2 separate regions of the Homo sapiens genome follow, and region 1 is linked to region 2. The links are contacts of gene promoters, found by promoter capture Hi-C in human tissues and cell types (Jung and others, 2019). All regions are on one chromosome and are shown on one strand. Each heading gives the region's core, a stretch centred on a gene start or on the middle of the fragment in contact. The rest is flanking DNA. Distances are from core to core; before and after follow the strand shown.

Region 1 (6,828 bases), core at 1,769-4,268, 350 kb before region 2:
TACGGTCCATTTTGCATTAATTTTTTTAATATATCATCTGAGTATACATTGATGCTCATTTTTTGCATATATATATTCCATTGTTCCAGCACCTTTTGGTGAAAAGACTATCATTTCTCCACTTATATTTATACTTTTTGTAATTGTCTCACAGTTCTTGGATATTCTAGTCTGTGTTTTTAATATATATTTTTTAATCTTTGCATTCAGTTTTAGAAGTTTCTATTGAACTTTCTTCAAACTCACTGATGTTTTCCCTTTGCAGTGTTCAGTCAATTTATGAGCCCATCAAAGGAATTATTAATTTATGTTACAGTGTTTTTTTATCTCTAGCATTTCCTTGTGATTATTTGTTAGATTTTTCCATTTCTCTGATTACATTGCCCACCTTTTCTTTTATCTTTCCCAATTTCTCCATTAGAACACTTAGTATATTAGCCATAGTTGTTTTAAATTCTTGGTCTAACAATTCCAATATATTTGCCACATTTGAATCTGGTTATGATGATTGCTCTGTCTTCAGAATGTGTTTTTGGTATTGTAGCATACTTTGTCATGATTGTAGTATACTTTGCTCGATATGATTTATTGGGTAAAAGAAACTGTGGTAAACAGGCTTTTAATGTGAGACTTCATCTGTCTAGGAGTTACACTGTGTTTACTGTTTGCTATAGTTGTAGGTCTCAGAGGCTAAATTTCTTCTGGCATCCTTGTTTTCTCTCCCCTGCTGTCTTTAGGTTTCCCTAGAGTCTTCTTCTTAAATAAGGTCTGAGATATGCATTTCTTCCAGTTGTATCCCCCTGTTATTAAACAGGAGCTCTATTGATATATTAGTGAGGTGTGGAGGAAAGGGGAGTGCTTGAAGTCTTATTATTATAATTCAGTCATTTAGTGAGCCTGTACCCTGGGCTGTGACCTATACAAGTGCTTCTCAGTCCTCTCCTCCTTAGGTGAGATAGGAAGGATAGAGATGTCTGAACTTTGGTATTTCACTTTCCCCAGATTGGTTAGGCCTTAGTAAAACCCCAGTCAGTTAGGATCTGGTAAAATAGTTTATTTTGAGAGTAGGACTTGTTATGAAGAACAGAATTCTCTGGGCATACTTCAAAATTGCTATTTTACCTTTCCCTGCTGGAAGCAAGAGGGGATTTTTCTCTGACCTTCACTATGAGAAGCTGGTAGAGATCCTGGAGGAAAAATTCACAAAACATGGGGGCTCCACTAAGACTGGCCTCTCCTGGAGTTTTAAACCCTAAGACTTGTTCTTGCTGAGCCCCCAGCAATCTTTCAGCTACAGTTTAGATTTTACTGCTCCAATACTGGTTCCTACAGAGGTTTCTGCTCTGGTAAGTTGTGATTCTCTGTATCAGTCTGTTTCTTTAATTTTGGGGACAGTGATTTGCCCCATGACCTCAATTCTCTGATGGATCTATGAAGAGTTGCTGATTTTCAGTTTGTTCAGTGTTTTTTTTTGTTATGAGCATAGCCAACAACTTTCAATTCTTTATATGCTGAACCAGAAACTGGGAGTCTGTCCTGACTAGCTATTTGGCAGTTGCATTGTGGCTTAATATAATCAACATTTCAGTTTGTTTGAGTTCAATAGGCTTTGGCTATAAAAATATCCTGCTTGGGTTTCATAACAAAGAGAGCCAGGCTATTTTAATTTCCATACTTTATGGAATTGTATGTGGGCATCAGATAAATAATTTGTTTAAAAGTATTTTCTAAGATTTTTTCTAAGTATTTTCTAACTATTTTTCTAAGATATTTTCTAAGTATTTTCTAATATTTTTGTTTAAAAGTATTTTCTAGAATTACTTTTTTCCTTTTTCCTTCCTTTCCCTCTCTCCCTGCCTCCCTCCCTTCCTTCCTTCCTTCCTTCCTTCCTTCCTTCCTTCCTTCCTTCCTGTTTTCCTCACTGCATCAATCTGACACTAAAGTTACTTCTTTGTGATAAGAATAATGGATGTTATTGCCAAAATTTTATGAATATGTGAATCTAGATTTCAAATGACTTGCCTCAGGCCATCTCACTGGTCCCTGGCTGAGAGAAGAGTGGAAAAGTTAACTTCCTTCTTCAGCTGTCTTTAAGCTTTTTTCAGGATGAACACAGAACCTATTGTGGGGAGAAAGAGCTAAGAGATATTTTAAAGGACACATCACTCTTTCATATTTTTATCCCATGCCCTCACCATGTCTCCAAAGTAGGTGCTAAATATAATATTGTAAGTAATAATAGCTATGATTTATAACAGAACAGGTATTACTTTATTTTTTGCTTTATATAAATTATTTTTATTCCCCCCATTCTAGGAATGTTGGGTTCAAAATACACATTCAATTAACTTTAAATATCCATATAATCATCACAAGGCTAATAATCAATAAACTATCGGTTTTAAGATATTTTTATTTTTCAAAACTAAATACTTTCAGATGATTGGTTATTTAAAGATAATGCCTTATTTAATACCAAATACCAAATAAAACAAGAAGATGGTCCAGAATTCTTGGTGTGAAAAGTAAATATTTTCAAAAGTTAACCTTATGAAATACAAAATAGATACTGAACTAGGATTTTAAATTAATGTCAATCTTTTTACCTAAAACAATGATTTTTCAAATTTAAAAATTGCATAGAACACAATTCAAAATGTCATTTTCCCCAGTTTAAACATAATAGCAAAGAAAAGAGTTAATTTTGTCTACTAATTTTATATAATACATAATGTAAAACACATATATAATGTTTGTATTTTATTTATTTATTTATTTATTTATTTTATTTTACTTTCAGTTCTGGGATACATGTGCAGAATGTGCAGGTTTGTTACATAGGTATATATGTGCCATGGTGGTTTGCTGCACTCATCAACCCATCATCTAGGTTTTAAGCCCCGCATACATTAGCTATTTGTCCTAATGCGCTCCCTCCCCTTGCTTCCCAACCCCGACAGGTCCCAGTGTGTGATGTTCCCCTCCCTGTGTCCATGTGCAGAACGGGTATTTCAAATATACAATTTGTATTGATCCTCCTAAAAATAAAAGGAGGTAGACATATTTCCACTTTATTACTAGTGAGAAAACTAGAGGTAACTTGCTCAGGGGTGTGCGGAAGTATACAGGATGGCCATTCATTAAGTGCTCATCAGATTCTAACGTTGTTCTTCTTTTAGCTGTACAAAACTGCCAAGCTCTGGGGTCACTGCCATACTTATTTACCTGCTCACTGAGGGGAAAATACAAAATTAAAACTCAGATTCCCATGTAGAAACAAGAAGCATACATGCAGTGTACTTGGGAGGGAGCCCCAAACCCTGAATTCTATGAATGCTGCAACTGGATGTTTGAGAGAAATGTTTCTCAATGTTCTCTGGTTACAAGCACGTATCCAGTATAAGCAATTTTTTCTTCAGGCAAATCTGATATATGAAAATCCCCGTTTGCAGAAAAGATAAATTAGAGGATATTTGCTTTGCCCAAGAATTTCTTTGAATCACAGATCCCGTTGCCTTAAAATGTAACACAATGGAAACAAATCATTCCATAATTCATTTAGCAGCACCAGGACTCTTGCTTACAGCAATTCTCCAAAATATTTTACGCTCTGTTGATATGCCAACAAAAACATTCTGACTTCAGTGAGGATGAAGTAGCATTTTTACACTGAGTTTCCGTATTAAGGCACGGTACTGGGTATCAGCATGAACTCTCACAAGAAATATGAGTGCAGTTGCAGTATGATAGTTCTCATTTTATAGATGAGCAAACCAGGACTCAGGGAATTTTAAGTAATTCACCCAAAATTATACAGTCAAGGGTATGAAGAACAGGCATCCCTCGGTGGTATCCATGGGGGATTGGCTCCAGGATCCCTGAAGATATCAAAACCCAAGGATGCTCAAGTCCCTGGTAGAAAATGCTGTAGTATTTGCATGTAAACTGTGCAAGACCAGTCCCGGTGGCCCACGCTTGTAATCCCAGCACTTTGGGAGGTTGAGGCGAGCGGATCATCTGAGGTCAGGAGTTCAAGACCAGCCTGGCCAACATGGCAAAACTCCATCTCTATTAAAAATACAAAAATGAGCCAGGCCCGGTGGCACACACCTGTAATCTCAGCTACTTCGGAGGCTGAGGCAGGAGAATCACTTGAACTCGGGAGGCGAAGGTTGCAGTGAGCCGAGATCTTGCCGCTGCACTCCAGCCTAGGTGACAGAGGCTCTGTCTCAAAAAAAAAAAAGAAACATACAAAAACCCCAAAAACCCCCCAAACAAAAAACTGCACAGTCTCCAATATATTTTACATCGTTTCTAGATTACTTATGATACCTAATACCACGTAAATGCTACGTAAGTAGTTGTTAGACTGTATTGTTTAGGGAATAATGACAAGAGAAAAATCTGCACATGTTCGGTATAGATGCAACCATCCTTTTTTTAAAATATATATTTGATCTACAGTTGAATTTACGGATACAGAATCTGTGGATGCAGAGGGGTGGCTGTAATTGCTAGCTTTAAGGAGCAGCTACTCTAACCTAGGCATTGTCCTAAGCACATTATGTGTTAACTCACGAAAGCCTCATAACAGCTCTTCTGGTAAATACCAGTAATAGCCTCACTTTACACATAAGGGAACCGAGGTAGAGTGTTTAGTAACTTTCCTTAGATCCCAAAATTAGTAAGAGGTGGATGTGAGTTTTAAATTTAGGCGATCTGATCAAAATCCATGCTCATAATCATATTCCTTCCTGAATGGATGTGTTAAATAAGAACACAGTGCAACCACTAATTTTAAAGCATATTTACTTTAATATACCCCCAAATTTTGTTGGTCTGCACAACACTGAGAGGAAATCCAAACAACCAACAAAGGCCCTATGTATTTTGATAGCAAGAGGTAAACCAGCTGGAGTGAATGTACCCTATGCTAGAAAGGCGGGCTACAAGCATCTCGGATACAGAATTCCCAGTTGTTTTTGTTTTTTTCATTCTGAGGAAGGTAGTTCCAAACTTGGTTCGAAGAGCTTAATAAGATCATTAAAAATCTGTATTAAACAAATTTTGTTCTGCCTTCCTTACCACATTGGCTTCCATTTGGGTTGGTTACCTCGTGGTCACAAAGTGGCTGCTGTTGTTGCTTTGGGAATTATATTCTCGCACAACTGCATCCACAAGCAGGAAGAAGTTTCTCCTGCCCACCTCTTCTTCTTTGGGAAGAAAACCCAAATCTGTACACTTCTCTTCAGGTCTTCTGGACTCATGTGGTCATGTTCTATGTTCAGGTTGCCAGGCTGGTAGAAAGTAGGGAAGACTTCCTCCAAAAAGGCCAGGCTGCAGTGGTAGGCTGCAGGTGTGTCACATCTGTTCTAACACTGCTGCTCACCCCTTGTCATTCTGTGCTGATTACAACACATGGCAGAGGCAGAGCTTAAACCAGAAAAGGACTTTGCAATGTCTGCAAAGAGCTGTTGTCACCGGATAGAAGATCTCTTAGATTTGTGGCATTCCAGATCAAAGGTTTGAGTAGGTGGCTAAAAGAGAAGACCAAAGAGGTGTTTAGCGGATTGGGGAAAAGAAGGAGGAGATGGGTTGAGAAAAATAGGTGGTGGATTTTTATCTGACATGGGTTAGGCTGGAGATGGCAAAATATTTTCATTTCTTATGCCAACTTCAATCTCTGGAGCTATCTGTAGGCTCTGGGACCCTGTTTTGGGAAGAATTCTCCTGGTAGAGAGAACATTGACACTTCTAGTCTCTATGTTGAGAATAAAGTAGGAGGTCAGGCTGTCAGTAACGAAGATGCATGGAACAGCTATTGGGTAGGAAGCCAATATAATGCCTCCCCCACAAGAAAGCTTCCAGGTTTCATATTCAGGACTAGACTGTGACTGAACCTATCCCTGCTAATTGGCAATTCTGAAGCAGTTATTATTCCAGATATTGCTGATTAAATGGGGAGCCCAGAATGTTCATCATTCTCCAGTCAAAACTATAGTAGGCCAGGCATGGTGGCTCATGCCTGTAATCCCAGGACTTTGAGATCCATCTGAGGCGGGTGTATCACCTGAGGTCAGGAGTTCGAGACCAGCCTGGCCAACCCCATCTTTACTAAAATACAAAAATTAGTTGGGCATGGTGGTGCATGCCTGTAGTCCCAGCTACTCCAGAGGCTGAGGCAGGAGTATTGCTCGAACCCGGGAGGTGGAGGTTGCAGTTAGCCAAGATCGTGCCACTGCACTCCAGCCTGGGTGACAGAGTGAGACTCCATCACAAACAAACAAACAAAAAAACTATAGTGGCATAATATCCTGACATGTTCTTGACAAATCTATTGACTTAATGTTTCCTTCATTTAATCATAGACTTTTGGGCTGGACAATCCCTTAGAGACCATTAGTCCATATCCTTCATTTGCCAGACGAGGAAATTCATGCTTAGAGAGAGAACATGACTCTTCCAAGATCATACAGATCACACAGTGGTAAGGGCAACATTTCAGTTCAAATCTCTTAATTCAAAAGTTATTTCAGATTGCCCAGGCTGCATCTTCAAACAGCAAAGCAGGCAACTTAAACCATGAAGAAATACATTAGAGATGGTAAATCAACAGGATTGAAGGAGCACGGTGTCTGGTAACTGTAGGCTCTGACATCCTCCTCTCTTCAACAGAGCCACTCAGGTGCAGCCTCTGCAACTTGTTCTTCCACTGTTCCCCCTCCCATAATTGGTGCTATGTAACCTCTAATAATTCAGGTGTCTGACTGATGATGTATTAATGAAAAGCCAAAGACATCCAGCAAAGCCTAGATCCTTCTGTGCTTA
Region 2 (7,370 bases), core at 4,434-6,933:
AGAATTCCCAGAGGTTAACAGTAGCTTTCTCTAATCTGTTTCCCAATATTTCCCAGCAATATTATAAGCCTCTGATTCCCTGTATTAAATCCTTCCTACGTGAAACAACTACAGCAGTTTCTGACCAAATCCTGGTGTATTAGTTTGTTTTCACACTGAGACTGGGTAATTTATAAACAAAAGACGTTTAATTGATTCACAGTTCTGCATGGCTGGAGAGGCCTCAGGAAACTTATAATAAGGTGGAAGGTGAAGGGAAAGCAAGGCACCTTCTTCACAGAGCGGCAGGAGAGAGAGGGAGTGCAGGAGAAACTGTCATTTTTAAAGCTATCGGATATCATGAGAAGTCCCTCGCTATCACAAGAACAGCATGGGGGAACCCACCCTCATGATCCAATCACCTCCCACCAGATCTCTCCCCTGACACATGGGGATTAGAATTTGAGATGAGATTTGTGTGGGGACACAGAGCCAAACCATATCACCTGGCTAGCAGAAATACGGACAAGCAAATCACAAACGAAAACATAGAAATGCCAAATAAATGTAAAGAAATAAAATCATAACTAAAGAATACAAATTTTAAAAAATGAGATATTATTTTTTACTTATAAAATTGCCTACGGTTTATTTTATTTACATATATTATGTACTTGTCTAGTTTATTATAAACAGTCAAAGTTGGCAAGAGACAAACAATAAATAAGTAAAAAAACAAAAAACAGGTTCTGTTATGCACTCCTATTGGGAGTTTATATTTTACATCTACATTTGTAAAACCTTTCTAGAGGTCAATATCTGTTATAACCTCTTAAATGTTCATAACCTTTGTTATTCTAATTTTAGTTACAGAAATTAATCTTAAGGAAAATTTGGAGTACAATATTATATGTAAGAGTATTTATCAATGTGGCACATATACACCGTGGAATACGATGCAGACATAAAAAAGAATTGAATTCATGTCCTTTGCAGGGACGTGGATGAAGCTGGAAGCCATCATGCTCAGCAAACTAACATAGGAACAGAAAATCAAACACCGCATGTTCTCACTCATAAGTGGGAGTTGAACAATGAGAATACATGGACACAGGGAGGGGAACAACACACACTGGGGCCTGTCAGGGGATGGGGGGCAAGGGGAGGGAAAGCATTAGGACAAATACCTAATGCATGTGGGGCTTAAAACCTAGATGATGGGGTTGATATGTGCAGCAAACCACCACGGCACATGTACACCTATGCAACAAACCTGCACATTCTGCACATGTATCCCAGAACTTAAAGTAAAATAATAAATAAATAAGAGGATTTACCACAGTTCAAGTTATAGATCAGAATTTTTTTTAAAGCCTGAATATTTAAATATTTAATTTGTCATGACATACAGTGTCTTAGTCTGTTCAGGCTGCTATAACAAAATACCTTAGACTAGATAATTTATAAACAAAAGAAATATATTGCTCGGGAAGTTGCAAAGTCCAAGATCAAGGTGCCAGAAGATTTGATGCTAGGCAAGCGCCCATTCTTCATAGATGTCGCCTTCTGTGTGTTCTCACATGGCAGAAGGGCAAAGAGGCTCCCTCTATTATAACAGCACTAAGTCCATTCCTGAGGATGGAACCCTCGTGACCTAATCATCTTACAAAGACCCCACCTCTTAATACCATCACCTCGGAATTTAGGCTACAACATATGAATTTTGGGGAGAACACAAACATTCAGACAATAGCATATACATATAATAGAATCACTGTGGAGCTCTTATAAACCATGTTTTGGTATAAATGTAATAATAGAATGAGTTCATGATATAATATAAGTGAAAAAGTAAGATATATAATTATAGGTACAGTATGATTACACTCTTTTATATAATGTATACAATGTATAATATGTGAAATATATATGTATGCATAATAAATACATGTACATAAAATATTTCCTGGTATGTACATGTGTATATATATTTTTCCATGTATATAATTTATACACATTAACAAAAAATGAGAAAATATGACAAATATTTAACAATAGCTATTTCTCCAGTGGCAGGATTACAGATAATTTTTATTTTCATACATTTCTGTCTGACTTTTCCAAATGTGCTATTATGAGCATAAATTTTATAATTAAATACAAGTCAATAAGCATTTTAAAGTGCCTATAACAGCCCATCAGCAAGTGAAGAGATGAGATAAAAATGTGTCTGCACTTGGTACACATATTGACTTTCTTTTACTTCCATTTCCAGATGATATTGACAAAGATATTGAAAAAATTTGATTAATATGCCTCAGCTTAGATTTGCTATGCGAGAGCAAAGTCTTATTGTTTTAAAGGAATTATTTGCTGATCAGCTATAGGCTGACTTGACCTCATATTCCTACCATGATAGTCCCACAGTGTAGGGATGGGGTGGTATGACTCCCAAGACTTGGAGTATGTTATTTTCTCAGGGCAATGAAGATTTGGAAAAATGATGGCAAAGACAGAATTACTATCTCATCAAAGACATCCCTCAGCAGTATCTGTGGGCTGTGCAGTGTTCTCAGTTCGATAAAGGATTAGAACACAATGCTTCTTTGGAGAGCTGTGACTTGATACTGCATCAATACCTTTCTGAGAATTGTTTTTCATTTTCTTGCCTCTTTAACTTATTAAGCCTTAGGAGAATTAGTTGAAAAGCCAAGTCTTTGGGGTAGATACTAACATTAAGTCTTCTACTCTGTCATTTGCAATCATAAATTCCAGAACACAGCTCCTAATTCCATTGTGTATTGTTTTCTAAGGGAATGATAGACAGATTCTTTATTTTTTTAAACCTCTAAGCCTACCACACTTGCCGAGTTCCTCACTAGTCACTAAGAAAGTCCTGCCAATCAATGCATGGGTTTATGTCCATTGCTCAGCTCTTCTCCAATCAGACTCATTCCCCCAGCATCCCTGACACACCACTCTAAAATGCGGCTGCTGATGGTTCACCTTCCTCACTTTTGTCTACAAATCTCAATCCTGCTGATTCCACAAATCCTACATCAAGCAATATCATTTTATGAGTCTTTCCACAACCACCCCTTCAGGGGATTCTTCAATTTCTGTCACACCGGAAGTCTTCAGAGTATCACCCTCAGAGCCAGGCAAGAGGGACCCCGGCTAGGGTTTCAGGCTTTAGAGAGTCCAGCTCTGACTCCTTTTGGCCATAGGACTAATGTGATATGCCCACCTGGAGCCTGTGCCCTCCTTTCTAGACCATGCCCTGGGACTCAGAATCCCTTGCCCCAGATGGCCACACAATCACTTTCAGGTCCATTCTCTCTGGGCAGACAACATCACAAATGTGTGTACCCCAAGGCCTGAGGCCAAGAAGGCAGCTTTCTGGCTGTAGGGGCTGAGGTGTTCACACACATTTGCATGGCCCCTCAAGACAAAGAACAAGGGGGAAAGTGAGAAGAAAAGAAGCAGCCAGTGATCAGGGCCAGCTCTTGCAACTTAACCATGTTGGGTCATTCTGATTAAACCACTTAGCTCAAGTGTAGTGCTCAAGACACTTAGCACATTCTCCAGCTGAATTTACCAGTGTTCATGGACTACCTGGGTTAGAAATATATTTCACTATAAAGTAGCATACAAAATGAGCAGAAAGGGAGTTAATAAGATTAATAATAGAGTTAGTGAATATTATGAGCTGAGTTTTTGAGAAACGTAATTTCTTTCAACACTAATAACAACCTTGTGGGGGTTCATTGTCTCCCTTTAAAAATTAGGAAACCAAGGCTTTGCCATGGTCGCATAGGAGGGTCAGAATAGCATCTTTATGACCCCAGAGCATACTCCTCTCCACTCCACCTACCCATGTGTACAACTCAGACACTTTCTGGGATGTCCACGTCAACTATTCTTTAAAGAGTAACCAACAGATGGATAGTTTTCTGTTTGTGAATCAATGGTAGGTGACTGAAAAATTGGTTCTGAGAGGTCGTTTTGCAAGGATTGATGGTCACAGGCTGAGAAGCAGATTTGAAAGACCTACCTGCTAGCAGCATGAAGAGCTGCTCTTCCTTATCTTAGTATTAACTAGTTAATTATTGGAGGTGGGTGCAGGGGTGGATTATGTGTATTCTTAATTGTTGTAGAGTGGGGACTGGGAGTTACAAAGACTTTTGCAATTTTCGACCTTGCAGAGCTGAGCAATTTTCAGTTGCTTTGCTTGCTGATAGCACTGCTTCCCTTATCTACCATGGAACACATCTTAATGAAGAATTTGCATTCACAGCATCAGGTTAATGAATACAAAACAAAACAGTGTATATCCCTCTGATGGATGGGATTTCGGAAGCACAGACATTATACACATATTTGATGATAAAGTACTAGAAGTGCAGGGAATTGAGGTCAAGCTTCCTCCTAAGGGGACTGAATCCCAGAGAGAGCAGGTGACTTAGTAATGAGAAGTGGAGCTGTCTGTTCAACCAGGATGCTCCTCCTATGGCACGAAATTCAGTTTTAAAAATATATTAAATTCAAATCAAATGTGTTAGGTGTGAGTTCTATCCCTACAGGTATGAGGCAGAGGTGGAGGACTTTGTATACAATAGAGAAATAAATACATATATTAGGTCTTCCATGACATAGGATTTACTGACCCTCTCATGGGCATTCCTCTGAGGCATTTTGAGATTTATTGCTATAAAAGAGCCTCCCAAACATTATCTCACTTAGAAAAGGTAATCATATTAATATGATTTTGTTCACAGGAGAGAATTTAAGTGCCACTGCTTAAAGTTATCTCCTTGTTCCTAGGTTTAAGGAGACCTAGTAAATAAGAACATTCCACTTTGTCTGCATCAATAAAGATGAAAGATGACTTAGGAGGTGGGAATTGGAGTGGGAAACATTTTTCTATGTTCCCGATATTCTGAAACACATGTGACTTTATTCAATCACAAGGTAAACAGATTATGTAATTTACCAGAAAAAAAGTAATAAGACTGGTGGTGCTAGGTTTTCATACTCCAGCTATTAATGAATTAAAGAGAGTAACACTCCTGAAAGGATACCATTTTCTCAAGAAAACTGGAAAAGATTGTGTGGCATTTAAAAAATACCAAACTCTGTGGCCATAATGCTCTTAAAATTCATCTGTCTAAAGAAATTAGAAGTGAATCATATTAAATAAGGTTTAGATATGTCCACTTTATCTTCCTGAAAATATAATTTCATTACAATCAGATTTGTCATATTTTATCTGATTTTACTTGCTATTTAAAACACCTTATAATTTACTTGCATATTTAGAATTACAATATTCTTAATATACTTCTTGATCTTAACAAAACCTAGGCCAAATGTTAATCAAATCAAGCTGTTCAAAGTTACTTTATAGCACATTCCTATGAACACACCATACACACAGCAATATCTAGCAAGGGTGTCAATTTTTCGTTATTTTTAAAAGCTCATTTAAAGAAGTTATTTACTACAAATGACTCTACACACACACACGCGCGCGCGCGCGCGCACACACACACACACACACACACAAACCTTTTTAAAGAAACGCTAGAACCCAACCCCCTCTAGGCCAGAGGAAAACATTACAGCTGTATACGCACTTGTGCCTGTTGCCGTAGAGTAATACGGTAGCAGCAGGAGATTACGGTACTAGCTGGGCTACTGCCTGAGTTACGTCAGCGAGAGCTGCAAAGTTCCTTGCTATTCTTTTCTGGTGTCGGGGAGCTGAATATTAAAAGGGTGATTGTGGAGTTACCGGTTATCTGCATTTTTTTTTCTTTTCTTATTTTGACTCTTTTTAAAAAATGCAGGTAAAGTGACAGCGGTTCAGGAGCTTAAAGACATCAGTGGTGGAGGGGTGAGTCAGCGGGTGCAAAAGGACAAGGATTTGGTGCCTCGGAGACACGGTCCCCTCTCCGCCTCCAGAGAAGAGCAGGCAGGCAGCTCCCGGGACCGAAGCCGGGTCCACATCCCCCGCGCGCGAGCTGGTGGCTCAGCAGCGGCGCTTCAGGTGAGTGCGCCGGGGCCGGCGTCCCGCAGGGCCGAGTGGGTGAGGGCAGACCTCCCCCGCCGTCTGGTGAGACGGAACCCCCACTTTTCCCAGCGCCTCCCGCTTTTTCCACCAGGTTTTATACCGGCCCCTCTACCCCACCCCCGATTCCCTTACATCTTCTGCGAAGTTGCCTTCTACTGAACAAGTGTCTTTTTAACCCTGTGTTTATCACCCTCGAGGTAGGAGGAAAAGGGTTTCTGCAGTGGCACGTTTTTAATACCACCTGTGAGGTCTCCAACTTGCGATTTTAACAAGAGTCTTTGCCCGAGGTCCCACCTCAGGGCCCAACCCCAGAAGGCAAGGTGGGCACTTCCTCACGCCGCGCTGTCCTGCCGAGTCCCTGCGGTAGGTTCGCAGTTGTGGAAACCCAGGTTTCTTACGCAGATGGTGGCCCCCAGCCCAGAAAATCGAAGGCGGCCCCTGCCCGCTGGCATGCCGGCTTAATGTTTACGCCTGCAAAATCCGCAGTGACTGTCACTTGCAAAGCTCCCTCTGCAGAGGGACGTCCTCCCCACCCCGTCCCCCGCCAGTCCCGCTACGGCTGGCAGCTGGAGCCCCTCGGGTGGCCAACAGTGAGGCTTGGAAAGGCGTCGTGGACAGACCTGGGTCGCTTTCTGTCTTCGGGTCCCTCCCGGCTTCGCTCGGGACCTGGCTCTCAAGCCAGCTTGGCTGGTGGACAGACCGGTGCGCTCTGCACACCCGAGTGCGAATTCCACCGGCGTGAGAGTGAGCGTGCTCGTGGTCCTGGCCCTGAGGTCCCTGGGTCGCAGCTGTTCCCTCTCCCAGGCCGCCCCCTCCAGGTGACTGCGAGGCAACCTGTTCTAACGGAAACCGAGTACATCCTCCAGAATTCCCCGGCTAGGATCCGTGCGACACACTCGCCAGCCGCAGTCGCCCCTCCGGGGCTTCGAGGATTTTAATTTCGTGGTACCTGCGCTCGAAATCCAGACTTCGAGCGCTGGAGCCTGGGGTTTTGGGGATTTGTTTTTTTGTTTGTTTTTCGCTTCGGATCCTGAACTCGGGCAGAGGTGACTCAGTAGAGTGCGCTAGGCAGGTTCCCAGTGGTGGGGGCGCGAGATGAGCTCCGAAGTCGCCTCCACCGCTGCCGGGCGAAGCAGCTTCTGGACCGCAGAACCAACCCGGCTCCCAACTGGTGTCCCCCAACCCGTCAAGCTCAGCACAGCCTCTTTCCCTGGGGCGCCTAGCTCAAAGCCGCCTTTCTCTTTGCGCTCTTTCAGGTGGACGCGGTCAAACGATGCCCCGCAGCCTCCTGGGTCTCAGCACATATTCCACACCTACGTCC

What was found. Contacts are between HindIII fragments. The study calls those that stand out against the background at their distance.
Region 1: a contact is called between a fragment that was not itself captured here and the fragment with the promoter of ADRA1A in region 2, in 1 of the 25 tissues and cell types used here (small bowel).

Annotation. Positions count from the first base shown.
Region 1 is chr8:27,208,751-27,215,578 of GRCh38, reverse strand. LOC105379340 (a long non-coding RNA gene) reads right to left here. Exons shown (of 5, transcript XR_949607.3): 5 at 4,796-5,537. Among named protein-coding and RNA genes, the nearest start is that of STMN4, 46 kb to the left of the region's middle. The HindIII fragment of the contact is 6,971 bases long and covers 1-6,503 here.
Region 2 is chr8:26,865,591-26,872,960 of GRCh38, reverse strand. ADRA1A (adrenoceptor alpha 1A) reads left to right here and starts at 5,683. Exons shown (of 3, transcript NM_000680.4): 1 at 5,683-6,025; 2 at 7,306-7,370. RefSeq lists an enhancer at 6,462-7,370. The HindIII fragment of the contact is 8,811 bases long and covers 1,525-7,370 here.